7 separate regions of the Homo sapiens genome follow, and regions 1, 2, 3, 4, 6 and 7 are each linked to region 5. Evidence: promoter capture Hi-C in 16 types of primary human blood cells and fetal thymus (Javierre and others, 2016). All regions are on one chromosome and are shown on one strand. The core of a region is centred on a gene start or on the middle of the fragment in contact, and the rest is flanking DNA. Distances in the headings are between cores, read along the strand shown.

Region 1 (3,484 bases), core at 299-2,798, 410 kb after region 5:
AAACAAACATGTAAGGAAAAAAAAAAGTACACCGACTGCTTCCACTCTGACCCTGCTATTACAGCCACAAACTCAGTGGTCTAACCAGAATGTGAGATGAACAAAAAAGGGCAAATAAGTTAGATAATGCTGTATCTGAAATGACACCAGTCTCAATACTTCACCTTCAATAAGAAGCTTCCCAGCGCTGAAGCCACACTGTACACATGGTTTCTTTCTTTCCTTAAGCATCTGGCACCAATGACAGCCTACATTTGGGGGCCAACACAAACGTGGAGCCTCCATCAATCCAGCCTCCTTGCGTGGATGTTTCTAGAGGCATACTAAAATACACAGAGCTAGCTGGGTGCAGTGGCTCACACCTGTAATACCAGCACTTTGGGAGGATGAGGTGGGTGGATCAGCTAAGGTCAGGAGTTCGAGACCAGCCTGGCCAACATGGTTCAACTTTGTCTCTACTAGACCAGGTGCAGTGGCTCACGCCTATAATCCCAGCACTTTGGGAGGCTGAGGCGGGCGGATCACGAGGTCAAGAGATGGAGACCATCCTGGCTAACACAGTGAAACCCCGTCTCTTCTAAAAATACAAAAAAAAAAAAAAAAATAGCCAGGCACGGTGGCGGGCGCCTGTAGTCCCAGCTACTTGGGAGGCTGAGGCAGGAGAATGGCGTGAACCCGGGAGGCGGAGCTTACAGTGAGCCGAGATAGAGATAGTGCCACTGCAGTCCAGCCTGGGTGAAAGAGCGAGACTCCATCCGGAAAAAAAAAACAAAAAACAAAAAAAACAAAACAAAACAAACAAAAAACTTTGTCTCTACTAAAAAAAAAAAAAAAAAAAAAAAAGAAACTGTCTCTACTAAAAATACAAAAAAATTAGCTGGGTGTGGTGGCACGTGCCTGTAATCTCAGCTAGTTGGGAGGCTGAGGCAGAATTGTTTGAATCTGGGAGGCAGAGGTTGGTTGCAGTGAGCTGAGATTACGCCATTGCAGTCCAGCCCTGGGCAACAAGGGCAAAACTCTGTCTCAAAAGAAAAAAGTAAAATAAAATACACAGAGCTCTGTTTTCTATGTTACTGTGGTAATCAGGCACATGCCACTCTTGCTGGTCATCCCAAACCCTAAGGTCTTTTTCTCATGAAAGATGTTGCTGCTAACATTTCTACCCTCTACATTGCTCCTATGAGCTAACACCTTTTACATTTCAGTCCTTTATTCCAAACTGTCAAGATCTTGATGCCGTCACTCACTGTATCACCAGCGCCTCCCAGTGCACCTCACCACCAGCATATATCTGATATGCATACCTCGTCCATCCCAATTCAAGCAGTGACAAAGGACTAAAACATGGCGGATGGTGGCATGTCACACAGCCCTGCCTCTGACCAATGAATCATTTCTAAGAATGCATTCCTTTATTAGTCACCACAGTGCTCACATCATCCTATGAAGCAGAGGAATCCAACAGGGAAGGTTTCCAACACTTCTGGAGACATTCTCAGATAAATGGTTATCTACAGAAAACTGTAACACATATAAAAAATATGAAGAATAGGTGATCAGACGCGGTGGTTCACCCCTGTAATCCTAGCATTTTGGGAGACCGAGACGAGAGGATCACCTGAGCCCAGGAGTTCAAGATCAGTCTAAGCTATATAGCAAGACCCTGTCTCTACAAAAAATAAAAATAAAAAAAATTAGCCAGGTATGGTGGCACGTGCCTGTACTTCCAGCTACTTGGGGGTTGAGAAGAGAGGATTGCTTGAGCCCAGGTATTTGAGGCTGCAGTGAGCTATGATTGCGCCACTGCCCTCTAGCCTGGGCAACAGAGCAAGACACTGTCTCTAACAACAACAAAATAGTTGTAACCCTCACAATGTAAAAATAAAAGGGACCAGGCGCGGTGACTCACACTTGTAATCCTAGCACTTTGGGAGGTCGAAGCGGGTGGATCACGTGAGGTCAGGAGATCGAGACAAGCCTGACCAACATGGTAAAACCGCATCTCTACTAAAAATACAAAAATTAGCCAGGCGTGGTAGCGGGTGCCTGTAATCCCAGCTACATGGGAGGCTGAGGCACAAGAATCACTTGAACCCAGGAGACGGAGGCTGCAGTGAGCAGAGAGCACGCCACTGCACTCCAGCCTGCGCAGCGGAGGGAGACTCTATCTCAAAAAATAAAAATAAAAAATAAAAGGATCAATAGCCTAGTCTAAAATTGGGCAAAAGATCTGAACAGACATTTCCGCAAAAATGATACACAAATGAGCAATAAGCAAATGAAAGGATGCTCAACATCATTAGTCACCAAAGAAATGTTCCTCAAAGCCATGAGACAAAAAACAAATGGCCTGTGGCCCCAGCTATTCGGGAGGCTGAGGCAGGAGAATCACTTGAACCCGGGAGGCAGAGGTTACAGTGAGCCGAGATTGCGCCATGGCACTCCAGCCTGGGTGACAGAGTGTGACTCCGTCTCAAAAAAACAAAACAAAACACAACAAAACAAAATCATGAGCTACCACTTCACATTCACTAGGATGGCTATAATTAACAAGTCATATAATAAGAGCGTTGGGCAATTAGAACCCTTATACACTGCTGGTGGGAATGTAAAATGGTACAGCTGCTTGGAAAAGTCTGGCAGTTCCTCAAAAGGTTTCACAGAGCATTAACACATGATCCAGCAATTCACTCCTAGGTACACACTCAAGAGAAATGAAAACATGTCTGTATAAACACTTGTATGCGAATGTTCATAGCTGCACTATTCGTAATAGGTGAAAAATGGAAACAATCCAAATGCCTACCAAATGGCAAAGGGATAAATAAAATGTGGTCCATTCATTCGATGCTCTTATTCAGCCATCAAAATGAAGTACTGATACATGCTAAAACATCGATGAATCTTGAAGACATTATGCTAAGCTTAAGAAACCAGACCAAAAGGCCACACAGTGAATAAATTCCACTTATATGATGTCCACAATAGGCAAATGTACACAGACAGAAAGCAAATTAGTGAATGCTTAGGGTTGGGAGAGTTTGGGGAAAATGAGGAGTGACTGCTAATGGGTATGGGATCTCTTTCTTTCCGTTTTGTGACAGAGTCTCCACTCTGTCACTCAGGCTGGAGTACGGTGGCATGATCTCAGCTCCCTAGCAGCTGGGATTACAAGCATGCACCAACATAATTTTCTCTATTTTTAGTAGAGACGTAGAGATGGGGTTCCACTGTGTTGGCCAGGCTAGTCTCATGCTCCTGGCCTCAAGTGATCCACCCACCTCGGCTTCCCAAAGTGCTGGGATTACAGGTGTGAGCCACTGTGTCCCGCCTGGTACAGGATTTCTTTCAGGAGTGAAGAAAATGGTATAAACTTGATGATGGTGATGGCTGCACAACTCTGTGATTATATTAAAAACTGTTGAATTGGAAAGTTTACAGAAGTGAATTGTATGGTATGTGAATTATATCTCAATAAAGCTAT
Region 2 (3,105 bases), core at 379-2,878, 390 kb after region 5:
CTGGGTCAGCAGAGAAGAACGGGAAGTGAGACTGAGGAGTGGCCAGGAGGAAACCGGAATGGAGAGAAGAAAGCTTTGACAAGGAAAGCGTCACCTGGCATCTCCAAGGGGCCCAGGAGTATGGACTGAGGAAGACAGAAGAGGGGCCATGGGCTGGGGATGGATGTCGGCAGTCCTGACCTCACCTGGAGAACGGCAGGCCACGAGGGCCTGTGAGGATCCAAACCGGGAGCCTCCAGCGGGGCTGGTGGCCAGGGGCGTGACTCTCTGCAGCAAGACTGACTCACTGCCGCCATCTGGCTCTGGTGCAGAAATTCCCCGGGAGGGCTCCCGGGTGTGGGGCCTGGCTGGGCTCAGGGAAGTTAGGCAGGGAGGGGTCAAGCAGGTGCCCTCTGGGAGCTCCTGTGGCGGGGGGGCCAACCTGCTGGCCGCTCTGCTGCTGACAGTTCTCAGTGAAGATGAAACAGCTTCATCCCTTTTTGCAAAGGGAGTATTTCCCAACCCCAGGCTCACATCCTCATTTTCTGTCCTCACCATTTTCCCCTGTGTCTCATGCGGTTACTGACGGATTTCCCCAGCCGAGCAGCTGTGGGCTCCCGCTCCCGCACCCACTCCCAGGGCTGGAAAGTCAGGTTCCAACGTTACCTGCAGAGACATGGTCCCCCTCACAGCGACCACAACAGACTCTTTCCTGTGATCCAGAGCCACTAAAAACGGCAGCTCGTAAACCTGCAGGAGCAAGAAACAAGCATGGGGCCTAAACAGTGAACACACGCACCAGCACGCAAAGTCGGAGCCCTGCAGTGTCTGCAATGACAGCCCAAGTCCTGCGGCACAGAGAGGAGGGGACACCGCCTCTCCACTCACGCTCACTACACAGTGGGACCCACTCTGGCAGGGACTGGCCTTCATAAACCATGCTGCTCTACATGAAAAAGGATCTTTGTTTTCTTAGCCTCTCTCTGACCTCCCCAGAGATTCGGATTGAACTGGCCCAGGGTGCGGCCTGGACCTCAGCAGTGTTAAAAGCTCCTCAAGAGGTTCTACTGGGCAGCAAAGTGGGAGAGCCGCCGATCTGCGCCAGCAGGCCTCCCGCTGCGGTGCCTATGAGAATCACCTGGAGAGACAGCGAGCGACACTGAACACGCAGCACTGCAGCCATGCACAGCTGGCTTTTTTTTTTGAGATGGCATCTTGCTCTGTCACCTAGGCTGGAGTGCAATGGCGCAATCTCAACTCACTGTAACCTCCGCCTCCCGGATTCAAGTGATTCTCATGCCTCAGCCTCCCGACCAGCAGAGACTACAGGCGCCTGCCACCACGCCCAGCTAATTTTTGTATTTTTAGTAGAGATGGGGTTTCACCATATTGGCCAGGCTGGTCTCGAACTCCTGACCTTATGATCCACCCGCCTCGGCCTCTCAAAGTGCTGGGATTACAGGCGTGAGCCACTGTGCCCGGCCCACAGCTGGCTTTTGCAGCTTCTCCCAAGGTGACAGTGACCCCCCCAGAGTGCCAGACCTGCTACACTACACTACTGATGGCACTCACAACCCAGGACGACGATACGAATCCCAGAAGGCCATGCGGCATTAATACTGAGGGATTTCACTCCTCAACAGAAGGGCGAGGTAAGAAACACAGCGCGCTATCTCTGATGAAGACGTCTCTATCTTATGTGAAACCTGGGTTCTGAACCTGCACCAGGGCATCTGTGTGGCTCCCCCAGAGTCTGTGGCCCCTCTGAAATAGTACACAGGACTTAGAAGTGTGTTTGTGTGTCTATGAATTACGGGAAGAATAATTCATAACTTCCATCAGAATCTCTAACAGCTCCAGGACCCAAAAGAAGTGAAGAGCCGCTGTCTGCAGCGTCCACACCTTGTCATGGAAGCTGACGTGGATGAAGTCCCTGTACTGCAGCCCTGTGGTGTGCAGGATGGAGCCGAAGTGACAGTTGAGCTGATCGCCTCCGACCAAGTCATAGTCTGTGGTTCTGCTTCTGCAGCTAAAAAGAGGACAAAGACGTTACTATGCCGAACAGAGCCACTTGGCAAGGAACGTCCATCCTCACTGCCACATGTTCCCAGAGACGCGAGGACCAGAGCGGACAATTCTCAGGACTTAGCCTGGCTGACATGGAATGGCTTTTTAAAACTTAATTTGATCGACTGACTGATTGAGATGGAGCCTCACTCTGTCACCCAGGCTGGAGTACCGTGGTACAATCTCAGGTCACCGCAACCTCCGCCTCCCAGGTTCAGGCGATTCCCCTGCCTCAGCCTCCTGAGTAGCTGGGATTACATGCGTGCACCTCCATGCCCGGCTAGTTTTTGTATTTTCAGTACAGATAGAGTTTCGCCATGTTGGCCAGGATGGTTTTAAACTCCTGACCTCAGGCGAACTGCCCGTCTTGGCCTCCCAAAGTGCTGGGATTATAAGCGTGAGCCACTGCACTGGGCCCGGAATGGCTTATTAAAGATAATACCTCTCTGTGTACACTTCTTGGATAGAGTTCTGACTTCTGGCATCATGTTAATGATTTCTATATTCAAAAAATTCATCAACAAGGATGGGCAAGTCCCTAAAACTGAATGCCAACAGAAGCAGGTAAAGCAAACCTGTCCAAATGAACAGCACAGCCAACTCCGTAGAAAATAAACAAGAAATCATAGAAGTAACTTTTGAGTACTGTGCTCTACGTTTAAAAAACAAAAAGAGGCCGGGCGTGGTGGCTGATGCCTGTAATCCGGCACTCTGGGAGATCGAGGCAGGTGGATCACCTGAAGTCAGGAGTTCGAGACCAGTCTGGCCAACGTGCTGGAACCCCACCTCTACTAAAAATACAAAACTCAGCCAGGTGTGGTGGCAGGCGCCTGTAATCCCAGCTACTCGGGACGCTGAGGCAGGAGACTTGCTTGCAACTGGGAGGCAGAGGTTGCAGTGAACTGAGATCGCGCCACTGCACTCCAGCCTAGGTGACAGAGTGAGACTCCGTCTCAAAAAATACAATTAAATTAAATTAAAATAAATAAAAATAAAAACTAAAAAAACTACAAACACATCGCAAACTGTACTTAGCAGATGCCCTTTTTGTAGTGGAAC
Region 3 (3,113 bases), core at 91-2,590, 370 kb after region 5:
TGCACATCCTGGCCCAGAGCTAGGGGCTGAAGATGGAGATGTTGGGACCCTAGACTGGCCCTGGAAGAGTAGAGGTTGGTGAACCACATGCCCTTAAGATCCTTTCCAGAGGCTGAGTGCGTGGCTTACGCCTCTAAGCCCGACGCTTTGGGAGGCTGACACAGGAGGAGCGCTTAAGCCCAGGAGTTCTAGACCAGCCTGGACAAGAAAGAGACCTACCCAAAAAAAAAATGCAAGAGCCTGAACTTGTACTACATAAAGGTTCATGTTAGAATTCGTTTTCTTAATATTCCTTTTTATTGCTTTGAAGATTGTTTTTGAGTTTTTGTTTTTTTTTTAAGATGGAGTTTTGCTCTTGTTGCCCAGGCTGGGAGTGCAATGGTGTGATCTCGGCTCACTGCAATCTCTGCCTCTCGGGTTCAAGCGATTCTCCTGCCTCAGACTCCCGAGTAGCTGGGATTACAGGTGCCTCCCCCCACGCCTGGCTAATTTTTTGTATTTTTTCACCATAGTTTCACCATGGCCAGGCTGGTCTTGAACTCCCAACCTTAGGTGATCTGCTCGGCCTCCCAGAGTGCTGGGATTAAAAGCGTGAGCCACCGCCTCCAGCTGAGTATTTTTTTTTTAAACAGATATAAATAATGCAGATTTTGTTTTTTGAGATAAGATCTGGCTCTGTCTCACAGGCTGGAGTGCAGTGGCGTGATCTTGGCTCGCTGCAACCTATGCCTCCTGCACTCAAGCCATCCTCCCACTTCAGCCTCTGGAGTAGCTGGGACCACAGGTGCGCACCACCACACCCAGCTAATTTTGTGTGTATTTTTTGTAGGGTTTTGCCATGTTGGCCAGGCTGGTCTTGAACTCCTGAGCTCAAGCAATCCACCAGCCTCGACCTCCCAAAGTGCTGGGACTCCAGGTGTGAGCCACCAGCCTCGACCTCCCAAAGTGCTGGGACTCCAGGTGTGAGCCACCATACCTGTCAATATGCAGTTTTTAAAAGTAAAAGTTTTAGTGGTTTCTAAAGAAAAACACTTCCCCCTTCGTAGCCTCTCCAGAAGGAATACTTTGTTTGCTTACCTGATTTTTGGTATTTTACCTGCTGTGTCTAAATTAGGCTTTTTGTTCCAGTGTAACTTCTGAGTTCAGCCATTCTCATCGACATTCCCAGCATGGACGATGAGAGGCTTGCTTTCCCGCTTGTAGCCCTCTCCACCCAAAACCTTTCTCATCCCCTCAATCTGATGGTTTTGGTGGACTCAGTTTAGTGCCGGCATGATCACTACTACATAAACTACTCACTGGCCTTGCCATGTAGCAACAAAACTGTGTTTCCTGCAGAACTTCTGGTTTTCTTTGGGATAATTAGTACTTTGCTTACTTTCCTATGTACTGAATTCAATTGTGAACTTTTTTTTTTTTTTTTTTTAAGGAAGGGTCTTGCTCTGTCACCCAGGTTGGAGTGCAGTGGTGCCATCACAGCTCCTAGGCTCAAGTGATCCTCCTGCCCTAGCCTCCTGAGTAGCTGGGACCACAGGTGTGTGCAACCATGCCCGGCTAATTTTTAAAATGTTTAGTAGAGTTGGGGGGGGGGGGTCTCCCTGTGTTGCCTAGGCTGGTCTTGAACTCCTGGCCTGAAGCCACCATTCCACCTCAGCCTCCCAAAGTGCTGGGATTACAGGTATAAGCCACTGTGCGCGGCCTCAGCTGTGAACTTTCATCTATTGTCTAAACCTCTCAAGATATTCAGATGTGTTGTTATTTTGCCAATACCCATTTTCCTGGAGTCATCTGATCTGCACCTCTCTTAGGTGCTGGTCTTCATTTCCTGCATCCACATTCCCTTTTTTGATTTACTTCATCCTGAATGGTTTCTCCAAGAAATCCCTTGAGAGAGTTGGAAGTACGTAGTCATGCACTATGTAATGACATTTTAGTCAACAGTGTATTGCATGTATGATAGTGTGTGACTGCACCTTATTTTTACTGTACCTTTTCTGTGTACAGATACGCAAATACCACTGTTAGAACTCCTGTTGCATTCAGTATAGTAACAGGCTGTGCAGGTGAGTAGCCTGGGAGCAATGAACAGGCCCTACCTTTGACCCAGGTGTGTAGTAGGCTGACATTAACAATGAAATCACCCGCGTGTTTCTCAGAATGTATACCCATCGTTAAGTAAGGCATCACTCTTATTTTTGAGCCCCTGCATCTTTGAAAACAACTGTTGTACATTACTTCTGGCTGGGCCTAAAATTCTAGGTTGGTGTGAACATCCCTTTTAAGTTATATTTTTGGGACAGGGTCTCACTTTGTTACCCATGCTGGAGTGCAGTAGCATGATCTCAGCTTACTGTGGCCTCAACAACCTGGGCTCAAGCAGTCCTGCTCAGCATCCTGAGTAATAGGGACTACAGGTGTGCACCACCATGCCCAGCTAATTTTGTTTTGTAGAGATGGGATCTGACTATGTTGCTTAGGCTGCAGATTTCTTCTTTTGAGACAGGCTCTTGCTATGTTGACCAGGCTTAGACTCAAACTCCTGGGCTCAAGTGATCCTCCCACTGCAGGCTCTCAAGTAGCTGGGACTACAGGCTTGGCCCACTGCACCCAGCCTCCCTTCGGTTAAAAAAATTTATTTTTGGCCAGGCGCAGTGGCTCATGCCTGTAATCCCAGCACTTTGGGAGGCCAAGGTGGACAGATCATTTGAGGTCAGGGGTTCGAGAGCAGCCTGGCCAACATGGTGAGACCGTCTCTACTAAAAATACAAGAATCAGCCAGGCGTGGTGGTGCACGCCTGTAATCCCAGCTACTTAGGAGCCTGAGGCAGGAGAATTGCTTGAACCTGGGAGACGAGGTTGCAGTGAGCCAAGATCGTGCCACTGTGCTCCAGCCTGGGTGGCAATAGTGAGACGCCCATCTCAAAAATTTTTTTTTTTTTTTTTTAAGAGATGGGGTCTTGCTGTGTTGCCCACACTTGTCTTGAGCTCAAGCAATCCTCCCACTTTGGCCTCCCAAAATGGAATGATTACAGGCCTGAGCCACTGCACCTAGTCCCTTCAGAATTCTGAGGGCAGTTCTTCCATGATTTTTCTTAGCCATTTCTGTTGGGATG
Region 4 (3,225 bases), core at 181-2,680, 440 kb after region 5:
TTTAACAGCAAACCAGTAACGGCCTGACCACCCATGAATGGGGGCTGGGTAAATAAATTATGGTACATGCACATAATGAAACACTCTGTGGCTACTGAAAATTATGTAGATTTCTAGTGACATGAAAAATGTGAGGGGATAAAAGCAGTGTATAGAACAGCAATGTACAGTTTAAGTCATGTGTCTGTGTATGCATAGAGAGGTATCTGGTGTTAATGTTCACTGAAACACCAGATGAATCTTTTACAGTGAAAATGTGTCACTTTAGGAAAAGCTATTGCAAAAGAAAAAGGGTTCTTATATTTAAAAAGACAACATCCTGATCCAGAATGTTATTGGCCAATCATGAAAGTGTTTCTCTGGAGCCAGTTTATGAGAGAGTGCCAGATTAGAAGAGTGCTGGGCAAGGGCACTCCTAAAAGAACACGTCACTCTAGAAACAACGCAGGTCGCACCCAACATACCTTTTGTAATGTACAAGTAGAAGAAGTCACAGTATAGGATGGTCTGGACTACGCCGGCCACCACAGCAATGAGGTCAAAGAAGCCCTCAAAGTAGAAGCGCCAGATCCAGTTGACAAGATACAAAGCACGATAGAGGCCCAGGAAGAACAGGTAGTGGGTGGTGATGGTCTCGGCCTCCCCAGTCTTGCTGATCATAAATAGCTGCGGAAGGATAGCCACGGACTCCAGGTAGATGGAGAAGGTCCAGAGGATCTGGAAGAGAAATGGCAAGCTTCCATCACGACCCACTGCCCACCAGGAGCTCAGAGGAAACACTCTTGCTTTCTTTACCACAAAGCAGCCTAAGATGAGTGGGGAGTGGGGCATGTCGGCCCAAAATAGAACAACAGCTTGGCAACTGCATAACCCAGTGGTCCCAGCCTTTTTGACACCAGTGATCGGTTTCATAGAAGACAATTTTTCCACAGACCAGCAGGGTGGATGGATGGTTTCGGGATGATTCAAGCACATTGCAATCATTGTGCACTTTACTTCTGTTATTACTATAATATACAATGAAATAATTATACAACTCGTCATAATGCAGAATCAGTAGGAGCCCTGAGCTTGTTTTCCTGCAACTAGATGGTCCTATCTGGGGGTGATGGGAGACAGTGACAGATCATCAGGCATTAGATTTTCATAAGGAGCATGCAACCTAGATCCCTCAGATGCACAGTTCACAATAGGGCTCATGCTCCTATGAGAATTGAATGCTGCCAGTTATCTGACAGGAGGTGGAGCTTGGGCAGTAATGTGAGTGATGGGGAGCAGCTATAAATACAATGAAGCTTCACTTGCTCACCCACGGCTCATCTCCTCCTGGGTGGCCTGGTTCCTAACAGGCTATGAACCAGTACCAGTCAGTGGCCCAGGGGTTGAGGACTCCTGGCATAAATCACAGAAACTTAAGCAACCTTTAAGAGGCAAGGCACTGCCAGTGTGACAAGCTGGGTAACCTGGACACCTCTACCTCTTTGAATTTTCATCACCTTGTCTCTCCAGGTTTATTCTTCCCTCTTCAATTTTCTATGAATCTACATACAGAGGTTTCTCCTGGACAAGCTTGTCCTGCTCCAGATCTGGGATACCAAATCAACCCTGCTTTCCGCCAGGATTGACAATACTGATAATTGATAAGCTCCTTCCACTTCCTCACTGCTGTTTTTCCTCACTGACTGATCTTGCCAAACTACTGAAATATTTTCACTATTTTTCTTATTCCTTAAGCTTTCTGGTGTGGTTAAATCAAAGGGGTAGAAGTCACAACTGTAATTATGGAAATTCTCTGCCCAGCGTATGACTTTATTCACGATGATGATAGAAGGACTTTCAGAGGGTCCTTGAGTATTTTAAAAGTCCAGGCATGGCTGGGTGTGGTGGCTCATGCCTGTAATCCCAGCACTTTGGGAAGCCGAGACAGGCAGATCACCTGAGATCAGGAATTCAAGACCAGCCTGGAAAACATGGTGAAACCCGGTCTCTACTAAAAATACAAAAATTAGCCAGGCATGATGGTGGGTGCCTGTAATCCCACCTACTCGGGAGGCTGAGGCAGGAGAATCGCTTGAACCCAGGAGGCGGAGGTTGCAGTGAGCCGAGATCATGCCACTGCACTCCAGCCTGGGTGACAGCGAGACTCTGTCTCAAAAAAAAAGAAAAGTCCAGGCACTCCCAGCACCCATCAGACACCCAGGGTAGCACAGTGACTTGATCGGCCCCAGGATGTGAAGCAGCACCGTTTGCCTGTTCAGCAGGGAAAGAAGAGGCACTCAGGAGCAGATCAGCTCACTGCACAGTACTAGGGGCACCACAAACCAGCTTTCCTAAAGGCAAGAGGTGCAGAGTGCTGCTAAGCAGGGTCACAGACACGACATCAGTGCACATCTGTACATGAAAAGCAAACAAAATGTGGGCTACAGGAGGGAGACCTTGTTCTTCCCACACTGGGACAGGCAGGGCTCTGTGTTTGGTACCACTGAAGTCAAGATAATGAAATACAGTTTCAAGTTTCTATTTCAAATGAATCAGACAGTAAACTGTCAGCAGACACCTAAATATGTGGGTGCTTAATTCTCATCTACGATTTTTTTACACCAGTCATGAACATTGCACTAGAGTTTGCCAAACCAGAAAATAAAAACAAAAAACTCCATGAAAACCTACACGATCTGCAAACATGCAAATAGGTCCATTCTAGATAACCAGACATGACCATGAAATTAACTTTTTTTCTTTAGATGGAGTCTTGCTCTGTCGCTAAGGCTGGAGTGCAGTGGCTCGATCTCGGCTCACTGCAACTTCCGCCTCCAGGTTTAAGTGGTTCTCCTGCCTCAGCCTCCTGAGTAGCTGGGATTACAGGCGTGCGATACCACACCCAGCTAATTTTTGATTTTCTTTCTTCTTTTTTTTTGAGACAGCGTCTCGCTCTGTCGCCAAGGCTGGAGTGCAGTAGCGCGATCTTGGCTCACTGCAAGCTCCGCCTCCCAGGTTCACGCCATTCTCCTGCCTCAGCCTCCCAAGTAACTGGGACTACAGGCGCCCGCCACCACGCCCAGCTAGTTTTTTGTATTTTTAGTAGAGACGGGGTTTCACCGTGTTAGCTGGATGGTCTCAATCCCTTGACTTCGTGTCCCACCTGCCTCAGCCTCCCAAAGTGCTGGGATTACAGGCGTGAGCCACTGCGCATGGCCAGTTTTTGTATTTCTAATAGAGACAGGG
Region 5 (3,192 bases), core at 47-2,546:
AATCTAAGCACCGGCAGCCAGCCTGCAAATGTAACAAACCACATGGCTCATCCACCTGGAAGATCACAATAAGTGAACAGGATGTAGAGGAGTCAGCCCATAAAAGGGAAGAAAGTTTCATTACTGGGAAATCCAAACTTAAGCGGGAAAGGGACCAGGGTATAACCTTCTAAGGGGATAATGCAACTTAGGCGACGTCCGGGAAGATCGTAACCCTGTAGTCCTTGACCAGTGAGGAACTGAGGTAGGGTCTTGCATGCTAGGAGATAAATCACCTGTTGTAACTGCCCTGGGTGTACCTGCCTACCAGACACGTGACCTTGCAAGAGGGCTATTAAAAGTCTCACTTTCACTGTTCTTTGTGCCTCTAAGTTCACTCTTTGGGTTTGGACGGGTGAGCATGTTTCTCGCACTACGAAAAAACTGATTTTTTTCTTTAAGACAGAGTCTTGCTGTGTCGCCAGGCTGGAGTGCAGTGGTGCCATCTCGGCTCACTGTAACCTCCACCTCTCAGGTTCAAACAATTCTCCTGCCTCAACCTCCTGAGTAGCTGGGACTACAGGCGCACGCCACCACAGCCAGCTACTTTTTGTATTTTTAGTAGCGACAGGGTTTCACCATGTTGGCCAGTATGGTCTTGATCTCTTGACCTCATGTTCTGCCCGCCCTGGCCTCTCAAAGTGCTGGGATTACAGGCATGAGCGACCGCACCCAGCCAACTTTGATATTTTTTAAAAGCTCCCAGATAACTCATATGTATTAGCCAGGGTTGGGAACTAATAGATCACACTAAATGGCTTTATTTAAGCAAAGAGTACAGACCCAAAACATCTCCCAAACTATTCCTATGCCGGAGAAAAACTGAACCCATAATGGGGAGAGGGAAGATTCTATTATAATAAAAACTAAAAAATAACTTAAGGTTAAAAGTTTTCTTACTTTAAAAGTAATAATTTTAACTTTGTATTTTAATGTATAAATTCCTCTGTTTTAGCTTTGATCATTGTTTCAGCTACACTTGAACTGGAGAGAAATCAGAAATAAAGGTGTAAGATGATAGCTTGAATATGTTTTTATGATAGAGTAGAAAACCCTAAAAACTGCTGACATTTGACATTCTATGATCAAGGAACAAAGTCTGGACGCTTGGTTCCAAACTGATGGATTGCCTTCACAGATCCAATTCTCGACAAATTCTAGAACAGTTCTAGAACTGAACTGAAAGAATCATCACAAAGAGACTGAAACTGACCAATTCCATAACAACATTTTCCCCTGAAGTCTTAAGTTTTTCTCATGGGGAATATAACCAGGAAAGGAAGCAGAGACCTGGTGGTTGACAGTGCCAAGTCCCTGGAAGATGGCCCATCTGCAGCACTTCACTCGAAACTCTATGAAGCCATCATGAGAGAAGACTGCACTACGATCGAGGTACTCCTGAGAAATCACCCTGTCAACCAGCCCATCACCATTCTGCCCAACTCCGCCAGCAACAGATTACTTCTGACCCAGGTACCCTCTTTTCTGCTCAGTCACTTCTGGAAAAAAGTCAGGCTGCTTAGAAAGAAGCATGATCTAAAGCTGGTGAACCCACTAAGCTCACGGCCCTTATGAGAATGAGACACGACTCCAGCTCACTCCACACACACTGCAGTGCTCCCCAAAGCCTGCAAAGCCTCCCCTACACATGTCACACACAAACCAACATGAGAAAACACCAGACCCTGTGTGACTGGAAGACCATTCATGTCATCTCTCAAACATACCCACAGTGATGATCTCCATGTGGTCAAATTAGTTTTTCCCTTTTTTGGCCAGACGCAGTAGCTCATGCCTGTAATCCCAGCACTTTGGAAGGCTGAGGTGGGTGGATCACCTGAGGTCAGGAGTTCGAGACCAGCCTGGCCAGCAGGGCAAAACCCCGTCTCTACTAAAAATACAAAAATTAGCCGGGCTTGGTGGCAGGAGCCTGTAATCTCAGCTACTCGGACGGCTGAGGCAGGAGAATTGCTTGAACCCAGGAGGCAGAGGTTGCAGTGAGCCAAGATCGTACCACTGCACTCTCTAGCCTGGATGACAGAGCAAGACTCCATCTCAAACAAACAAACAAAAAATAGTTTTTCCCTTTTTAATATATACATTTTCATTTTCTAAATTTTTATACAATGATTATTACTTTTACAATTAAATTCAAAAAGGAAGTCACCCTCCCTTGTACCCTACTGTCTTATCTTGCAGCCACGGTGTGAAACCACTACTTACACGTGTGTATTTTAAGAGCTGGCACAAACAGCTCTGCTAATCATAGACAGAACATATGCTGCGTTATATTTGAAAACCCTGAAGATTCAGGTTTTACTGCTGATAATACGACTTTGGCAACGACACAGCACCTACTTGTCCATCACCCTGTGGGTTAATTTAAGGAATAAGTGACTTCATAGCAAGTACCCTTAATATCACACCACAGGCTCTTCTGAAGAATCAACTTTCAAAAATTTCCAAAGCTTTTGAGTGTTATTTCTGTTGCCTCAGTAAATGTGCATTTCTGTGAAACACAGATTTTATAGGATGGAATTCACTGAATTTTGATCATTTAAAACAGGTAGTAGAAAGGAAACTTTCAATGCACATACCAGAAAAAGAGTGAGCCAATGAGACACTAAATAAATGTATTGCCTTTGAAACGGCAAGCTAACACAAACAGTATTTTTAACTACACAGGGCCACTTGTAATGTGTTTTGTTTTCCCTCCAAAGCCGACAGAGTCTATCATCCCCATCCATCTGGCTGCCAAGTACCACAAGGCCCAGAGTCTGCTCTGCCTGTTACGGCACGGTGCTGACCCAGAAGTCAGGTAAGTTAACTCCACCGAAAATCATTTCTTTTTTTTTCTTTTTTGTTTTGAGGCAGGGGTCTCGCTCTGTTGCCCAGGCTGGAGTGCAATGGCACAATCTCGCCTCACTGCAACCTCTACTTCCTGGGTTCAAGAGCTTCTCCCACCTCAGCCTCCCGAGTAGCTGGGATTACAGGTGTGCGTCACCATGCCCAGCTAACATTTGTATTTTTAGTAGAGACAGGGTTTCACCATGTTGGCCAGGCTGGTCTTGAACTCCTGGCCTCAAGTGATCCACCTGCCTCGGCCTCCCAAAGTGCTGGGATTAACAGCCCTCAGCCACAGCACCCAGCTTC
Region 6 (3,334 bases), core at 723-3,222, 330 kb after region 5:
GGTGGTGTGTGCCTGTAATCCCAGCTACTCGGGAGGCTGAGGCAGGAGAATCGCTTGAACCCAGGAGGCAGAGGTTGCGGTGAACCGAGATAGCGCCATTCCACTCCAGCTTGGACAACAAGAGCGAAACTCCGTCTAAAAAAATAAACAGGCTGGGCGTGGTGGCTCACACCTGTAATCCCAGCAATTTGGGAGGCCGAGGCAGGTGGGTCAGGAGGTCAGGAGATCGAGGCCATCCTGGCTAACACGGTGAAACCTCATCTCTACTAAAAATGCAAAAAATTAGCTGGGCGTGGTGACAGGCGCCTGTAGTCCTAGCTACTCCGGAGGCCAAGGCAGGAGAGTGGCGTGAACCCAGGAGGCAGAGCTTGCATGAGCTGAGATCGTGCCACTGCACTCCAGCCTGTGTGACAGAGAGAGACTCCATCTCAAAAAAATGAATGAATTAATTAAAATAAATAAATAAAATAAAAATAAAAATATTAGCCAGATGTAGTGGTGCATGCCTGTCGTTCTAGCTACTCAGGAGGCTGAGGCGGGAGAATCGGCTGAGCCCAGGAATTCAAGGCTGCAGTGAGCTATGATTGCACCACTGCATGCCAGCGTGGGTTACGGAGGAAGACCCTGTCTCAAAAAAAAAACAAAAAACAAAAAACAAAAAACCCGAAGTTTTTTTTAAGGTCTTTAGTATGAGTTCTTCTGTGCTAGCTGAGGTTTTAAAAATGTACACTACGTTAAACAAGTATTTAAAGTAAATAAAGTCATTTAAACTAAATGACTTTAATTAAAAAAAAAAAACAAATAACTCGCTGGGTGACGGGCTCACGCCTGTAATCCCAGCACTTTGGGAGGCAGAGACTGGCAGATCAGTTGAGGTCAGGAGTTTAAGACCAGCCTGGGCAACATGGTGAAACCCTGTCTCTACTAAAAATACAAAAATTAGCCAGACATGGTGATGGGTGCCTGTAACCCCAGCTACTCAGGAGGCTGAGACACAAGAATCGCTTGAACTTGGGAGGCAGAGGCTGCAGTGAGCCAAGATCGGGTCATTGCACTCTAGCCTGGGTGACAAGAGTGAAACTCTGTCTCAAAAAAAAAAAAAAAAAGCCGGGCGTAATGGCTCACACCTGTAATCACAGCACTTTGGGAGGCTGAGGTGGGCGGATCACTTAAGGTCAGAATGCCTGTAATCTCGGCTATCTGGAAGGCTGAGGCAGGAGAATCACTTGAACCCAGGAGGCAGAAGTTGCAGTGAGCCAAGACTGCGCCATTGCACTCCAGCCTGGGCAACAAGAGCGAAACTCCATCTCAAAAACAAAACAAAACAAAAAATAAAGTTGTTTTTTTTTTTTGAGGTCTAAAGTATGAGCTCTTCTGTACTAGCTGATGTTTTAACAATGTGCACATTGTTAAACAATCATTTAAAGTAAATTATTTATTTAAAGTCATTTAAATTAAATGACTTTAATTTTTAAAAAAATCAGGCCGGGCACAGTGGCTCACACCTGTAATCCCAGCACTTTGGGAGGCCAAGGCAGGCAGATCATGAGGTCAAGAGATCAAGACCATCCTGGCCAACATGGTGAAACACTATCTCTACTAAAAATACAAAAATTAGCCAGGTGTAATGCCTGTGATCCCAGCTACTTGGGAGGCTGAGGCAGGAGAATCGCTTGAACCCCAGGGGCAGAGGTTGTAGTGAGCCAAGATTGCACCACTGCACTGCAGCCTGGCGACAGAGTGAGACTCCGTCTCAAAAAAAAAAAAAAAAAGTACTATCTTGTTCCTCCACATCTTTACAGCACTTAGTGGACTTGCGGACTTGTAGAATGGAGAACACAAAGTTCATTCTCCTCATTGTACAGATGAGCAATGAGGAAAAAAGGCTTAATGACTTAACGATGTCACAGAGCCCATTGGTGATTAACCTGGGGCCAGGTTGGCAGCAGTAGTCGGCAGTTCCTGGGCTTCTATCCCAGTGTGCCTTCCACTATACCATGCTTCCAGTGCAAAATGTCAGCAAGGTTTACATAATTAAGAGAAAACAGTCATTTTCTTTGGGCCATCAGACACTTGTATTTGAAGGGATCCAGAACCTTCCTTGGAGTTTTTATTCTTTTCATTAAGATGGCAAATTAGGGTGGGCACAGTGGCTCACACCTGTAATCCCAGTACTTTTTGGAAGGCTAAGGCCGGAGGATCGCTTGAGTCCAGGAGTTCAAGACCAGCCTGGGCAACATAGCAAGATCCTGTCTCTACAAAAAAGTTAGCTGGGTGTGGTGGCACATGCCTGTGTTCCCGGCTACACAGGAGGCTGAGGCAGGAGGATCTGTTGAGCCCAGGAGGTTGAGGCTACAGTGAGCTATGATGGTTCCACTGCACTCCAGCCTGGGTGACAGAGTGAGACTCTAAAAACAAAAAAAAGAAGGTAAAAAGAAGGATGATAAATTATATTAACACACTATGAGAATTAGCCAGGGGTGGTGGTGTGCACTTGTAGTCCCAGCTATTAGGGACTCCATCGCTTGAGCCCAGGAGGTTGACTGCAGTGATCCAAGATCTTGCCACTGCATTGCAGCCTGAGTGATAGAGACCTTGTCTCTAAATAAATAAATAAAAGAAGAGAAGGAACTATCAACAAATATTGAATGTTAATTGGCCGGGCATGGTGGCTCACACCTGTAATCCCAGCACTTTATTTAGAGACAAGGTCTCACTCTATCACCCAGGCTGGAATGCAGTGGCAAGATCTTGGATCACTGCAGTCAAACTCCCGGGCTCAAGCGATGGAGTCCCAAATAGCTGGGACTACAAGTGCACACCACCACCCCTGGCTAATTCTCATAGTGTGTTAATATAATTTATCATCTGTCTTTTTTTTTTTTTTTTTTTGGAGTCTCTCTCTGTCACCCAGGCTGGAGTGCAGTGTTGCGATCTCGGCTCACTGCAAGCTCCGCCTCCTGGGTTCACGCCATTCTCCTGCCTCAGCCTCCCGAGTAGCTGGGACTACAGGCGCCCGCCACCACGCCTGGCTAATTTTTTGTATTTTTAGTAGAGATGGGGGTTTCACCATGTTAGCCAGGATGGTCTCGATCTCCTGACCTCGTGACCCAACCGCCTCGGCCTCCTGAAGTGCTGGGATTACAGGAGTGAGCCACCCTGCCCGGCCCTCTCAGCACTTTTGGAGGCGCAGGTGGGTGGATCACAAGGTCAGGAGTTCGAGACCAGCCTGGCTAACATGGTGAAACCCCGTCTCTATTAAAAATACAAAATAAAATTAGCCAGGCATGGTGGTGCGTGCCTGTAGTCCCAGTTACACAGGAGGCTAAGACAG
Region 7 (3,334 bases), core at 528-3,027, 310 kb after region 5:
TGGGCATGGTGGGATTATTCCCAGCACTTTGGGAGGCCGAGGCGGGCGGATCACGAGGTCAGGAGATCGAGACCATCCTGGCTAACACGGTAAAACCCTGTCTCTACTAAAAATACAAAAAATTAGCCGGGCGTGGTGGTGGGCACCTATAGTCCCAGCTACTCGGGAGGCTGAGGCAGGAGAATGGCGTGAACCCGGGAGGCGGAGCTGGCAGTGAGCCGAGATGGCGCCACTGCACTCCAGCCTGGGCGACAGAGTGAGACTCCATCTCAAAAAAAAAAAAAAAAAAATTATGAAAGCTGTCATCCTGCCTAACATGGTGAAACCCTGTCTCTACTAAAAAAAAAAAAAAAAAAAATTCAAAAAATTAGCCAGGTGTGGTGGTGGGAACCTACAGTCCCAGCTACTCGGGAGGCTGAGGCAGGGGAATGGCATGAACCCAGGAGGTGCAGCTTGCAGTGAGCTGAGATCGTGCCACTGCACTCCAGCCTGGGCGACACAGCAAGACTCTGTCCCAAAAAAAAAAATGAGTGCTGGCCAGGCACAGTGGCTCACCCCTGAAATCCCAGCACTTTGGGAGGCCAAGGAGGGTAGATCAGGAGGTCAGGAGATTGAGACCATCCTGGCTAACACGGTGAAACCCCATCTCTACGAAAATACAAAAAATTGGCTGGGCCTGGTGGCGGGCGCCTGTAGTCCCAGCTACTCGGGAGGCTGAGGCAGGAGAATGGTGTGAACCGGGAGGCGGAGCTTGCAGTGAGCGGAGATCGCGCCACTGTACTCCAGCCTGGGTGACAGAGCAAGACTCTGTCTCAAAAAAATAATAATAATAATTATTATTATTATTATGAGCACTGTCATCCTGGCTAACGTGGTGAAACCCTGCCTCTACTAAAAAAAAATTTTTTTTAAATTAGCCAGGTGTAGTGGTGGGAGCCTGTAGTCCCAGCTACTCGGGAGGCTGAGGCAGGGGAATGGCGTGAACCCAGGAGGTGGAGCTTGCAGTGAGCTGAGATCGCGCCACCGCACTCTAGCCTGGGCCACAGAGCAAGACTCTGTCAAAAAAAAAAAAAAAAATTATGAGTGCGCGCCAGGTGCAGTGGCTCACCCCTGTAATCCCAGCACTTTGGGAGGCCAAGGTGGGTAGATCACCTGAGGTCAGGGGTTCAAGACCAGCCTGGCCATCACGGTGAAACTCTGTCTCTACTAAAAATACAAACATTACCCAGGCATGGTGGTGGGCACCTGTAATCCCAGCTGCTTGGGAGGCTGAGGCAGGAGAATCACTTGAACCCGAGAAGTGGAGGCTGCAGTGAGCCAAGATCATACCATTGCACTCCAGCCTGGGCGACAAGAACAAGACTCCATCTCAAAAAAAAAATTGCAAGTGCTGAAAACCTTTGATTCAAGATTCTAAAGATTTTCTGCCACACATTCAATGAGCAATCACTCATTAAGAACCTACCCTACGCCAGGTGCCAGGTGCTGTTCTAGGTGCTGGTATTAGGTTGGTATACCAAGCAGACAGTCTCTTCTTAAAGCTTCATTTTCTTTCCTTTCTTTTTTCTTTCTTTTTCTTTGTTTCTTACTTTCTCTTTCTCTCTCTCTCTTTCTGTCTTATAGAAACAGTGTCTAGGCTGGGTGCGGTGGCTCACACCTGTAATCCCAGCACTCTGGGAGGCCGAGGCAGGTGGATCTCTTGAGCCCAGGAGCTGGAGACCAGCCCAGCTAACATGGCAAAACCCCGACTCTACTAAAAATACAAACATTAGCTGGGCATGGTGGTAGGCACCTGTAATCCCAGCTACTCGGGAGGCAGGAGAATCACTTGAACCCAGAAGTCAGAAGTTGCAGTGAGCCAAGATCACACCATTGCACTGCAGCCTGGGTGACAAAGCGAGACTCTGTCTCAAAAAAAAAAGTGATCTTTTTGAAATGGTTAGAGGAGTTACATATGATCCAGCAATTCTGCTCTAAGTATACACCCAAGAGAAATAAAAACCGATGTCCACACAAAGCTTACATGCAAATGTTCGTAGTAACATTATTCACAATAGCCAAAAAGTGAAAGCAACCCAAAAGTCCAACATAGAAAGACATAAAAGACAAAAACAAAAGACTAAGCAGGGCCAGGTATGATGGCTCACACTTGTAATCTCAGCACTTTGGGAGGCTGAGGCAGGAGGATTAGTTGAGGCCAGGAGTTCGAGACCACCCTGGGCAACATAGTGAGACCCCATCTAGAAACAAAATGAAAAAATCAACCAGGCATGGTGGCACATGCCTGTAGCCCCAGCTACTCAGAAGGCTGAAGTGGGAGGATGGCTTGAGTCCAGGAGCTGGAGGCTGTAGTGAGCTATGATCGCACCACTGCACTCCAGCCTGGATGACAGAGGAAGACGCTTTCTCAAAAAAAAAAAAGAAAAAAGAAAGAAAGAAAGAGGAAGAGAAAAGAAAAGAAAAAATTGGCCAGGTGCAGTGGCTTACACCTGTAATCCCAGCACCTTGGGAGGCCGAGGAGGGTGGATCCCCTGAGGTCAGGAGTTCAAGACCAGCCTGGCCAACATGGTGAAGCCCCGTCTCTACTAAAAATACAATAATTAGCTGGGCGTGGTACCAGGCACCTGTAATCCCAGCTACTCAGGAGGCTGAGGCAGGAGAATCGCTTGAACCTGGGAAGCGGAGGTTGCAGTGATCCAAAATCACACCACTGCACTCCAGCCTGAGCCACAAGAGTGAAACTCCGTCTCAAAAAAATAATAATAATTTCATATATATATATATATATATATATATATATATATATATATATATATATGATCTAGGACTAAGAAACACTTCGTTCTTCCCACAGGCCATATAACTGAAAAGTTGTAGGCATGACTTGTTAAATTATAGCAGATTCACAGTACCATTTTTAATCTTGCTTTTACTAAATTTAGTATTTGGTATTGATTCCATTTAACTGCCTTGTATTTCAGATTCTGTATAAATAAGAAGGATGCTAAGAACTCCAGGAGATTAAGGCTTGCTTGCAAATAGTATTTTAAAATCATAACCATTCTCAGTATACAACTGTCTGCATCATTTTCTCATTTAATCATCTTTCATCCTAAAGAGGTATTAACCTCCTTAAAATGCCTCACTGCCCTACAAACTAGAGATCTAGGGAGGAGGGGCTCCCTAAACAAATTTGGAAAATGGAGTTCCTTAGGCCTTATTACTCATGAAACAGATTCTAACATTCCTGCAATGAAGAGGATGGGTATGGCTTTTTCTTTTTAGTCTCACTCTGTCACCCATGCTGGAGAGCAGTGGTGGGATCATAGCTTAC

Evidence for each region. The method cuts DNA at HindIII sites, captures the fragments that hold promoters and counts their contacts. A CHiCAGO score of 5 or more calls a contact.
Region 1: a contact is called between a fragment that was not itself captured here and the fragment with the promoter of ANKRD61 in region 5, in 1 of 17 cell types (monocytes). The highest score is 7.2, in monocytes.
Region 2: a contact is called between a fragment that was not itself captured here and the fragment with the promoter of ANKRD61 in region 5, in 1 of 17 cell types (naive B cells). The highest score is 5.2, in naive B cells.
Region 3: a fragment that was not itself captured here is called in contact with the fragment with the promoter of ANKRD61 in region 5 in 7 of 17 cell types (erythroblasts, naive B cells, total B cells and 4 more); the score reaches 8.0 in erythroblasts.
Region 4: a fragment that was not itself captured here is called in contact with the fragment with the promoter of ANKRD61 in region 5 in 4 of 17 cell types (total B cells, M0 macrophages, M1 macrophages and 1 more); the score reaches 6.9 in total B cells.
Region 6: a fragment that was not itself captured here is called in contact with the fragment with the promoter of ANKRD61 in region 5 in 4 of 17 cell types (endothelial precursors, erythroblasts, total CD4 T cells and 1 more); the score reaches 7.9 in endothelial precursors.
Region 7: a fragment that was not itself captured here is called in contact with the fragment with the promoter of ANKRD61 in region 5 in 15 of 17 cell types (naive CD8 T cells, total CD8 T cells, naive B cells and 12 more); the score reaches 11.0 in naive CD8 T cells.

The regions. Positions count from the first base shown.
Region 1 is chr7:6,442,431-6,445,914 of GRCh38, forward strand. The region is part of intron 2 of DAGLB (diacylglycerol lipase beta); the gene reads right to left. Among named protein-coding and RNA genes, the nearest start is that of DAGLB, 3.8 kb to the right of the region's middle. The HindIII fragment of the contact is 2,747 bases long and covers 176-2,922 here.
Region 2 is chr7:6,424,107-6,427,211 of GRCh38, forward strand. It overlaps DAGLB (diacylglycerol lipase beta), which reads right to left. Exons shown (of 15, transcript NM_139179.4): 7 at 1,882-2,008; 8 at 646-729. Among named protein-coding and RNA genes, the nearest start is that of DAGLB, 22 kb to the right of the region's middle. RefSeq lists an enhancer at 414-913. The HindIII fragment of the contact is 3,115 bases long and covers 72-3,105 here.
Region 3 is chr7:6,404,222-6,407,334 of GRCh38, forward strand. No RefSeq gene overlaps it. Among named protein-coding and RNA genes, the nearest start is that of RAC1, 31 kb to the left of the region's middle. The HindIII fragment of the contact is 4,507 bases long and covers 1-3,113 here.
Region 4 is chr7:6,465,607-6,468,831 of GRCh38, forward strand. It overlaps KDELR2 (KDEL endoplasmic reticulum protein retention receptor 2), which reads right to left. Exons shown (of 5, transcript NM_006854.4): 4 at 465-717. Among named protein-coding and RNA genes, the nearest start is that of KDELR2, 17 kb to the right of the region's middle. The HindIII fragment of the contact is 274 bases long and covers 1,294-1,567 here.
Region 5 is chr7:6,030,080-6,033,271 of GRCh38, forward strand. ANKRD61 (ankyrin repeat domain 61) reads left to right here and starts at 1,297. Exons shown (of 3, transcript NM_001271700.2): 1 at 1,297-1,512; 2 at 2,760-2,857. The coding sequence starts at 1,297. All of the region lies in intron 11 of EIF2AK1 (eukaryotic translation initiation factor 2 alpha kinase 1), which reads right to left. The HindIII fragment of the contact is 4,913 bases long and covers 1-2,505 here.
Region 6 is chr7:6,361,992-6,365,325 of GRCh38, forward strand. No RefSeq gene overlaps it. Among named protein-coding and RNA genes, the nearest start is that of RAC1, 11 kb to the right of the region's middle. The HindIII fragment of the contact is 8,332 bases long and covers 1-3,334 here.
Region 7 is chr7:6,340,628-6,343,961 of GRCh38, forward strand. The region is part of intron 1 of FAM220A (family with sequence similarity 220 member A); the gene reads right to left. All of the region lies in intron 1 of SMIM10L3 (small integral membrane protein 10 like 3), which reads right to left. Among named protein-coding and RNA genes, the nearest start is that of FAM220A, 6.7 kb to the right of the region's middle. The HindIII fragment of the contact is 477 bases long and covers 1,540-2,016 here.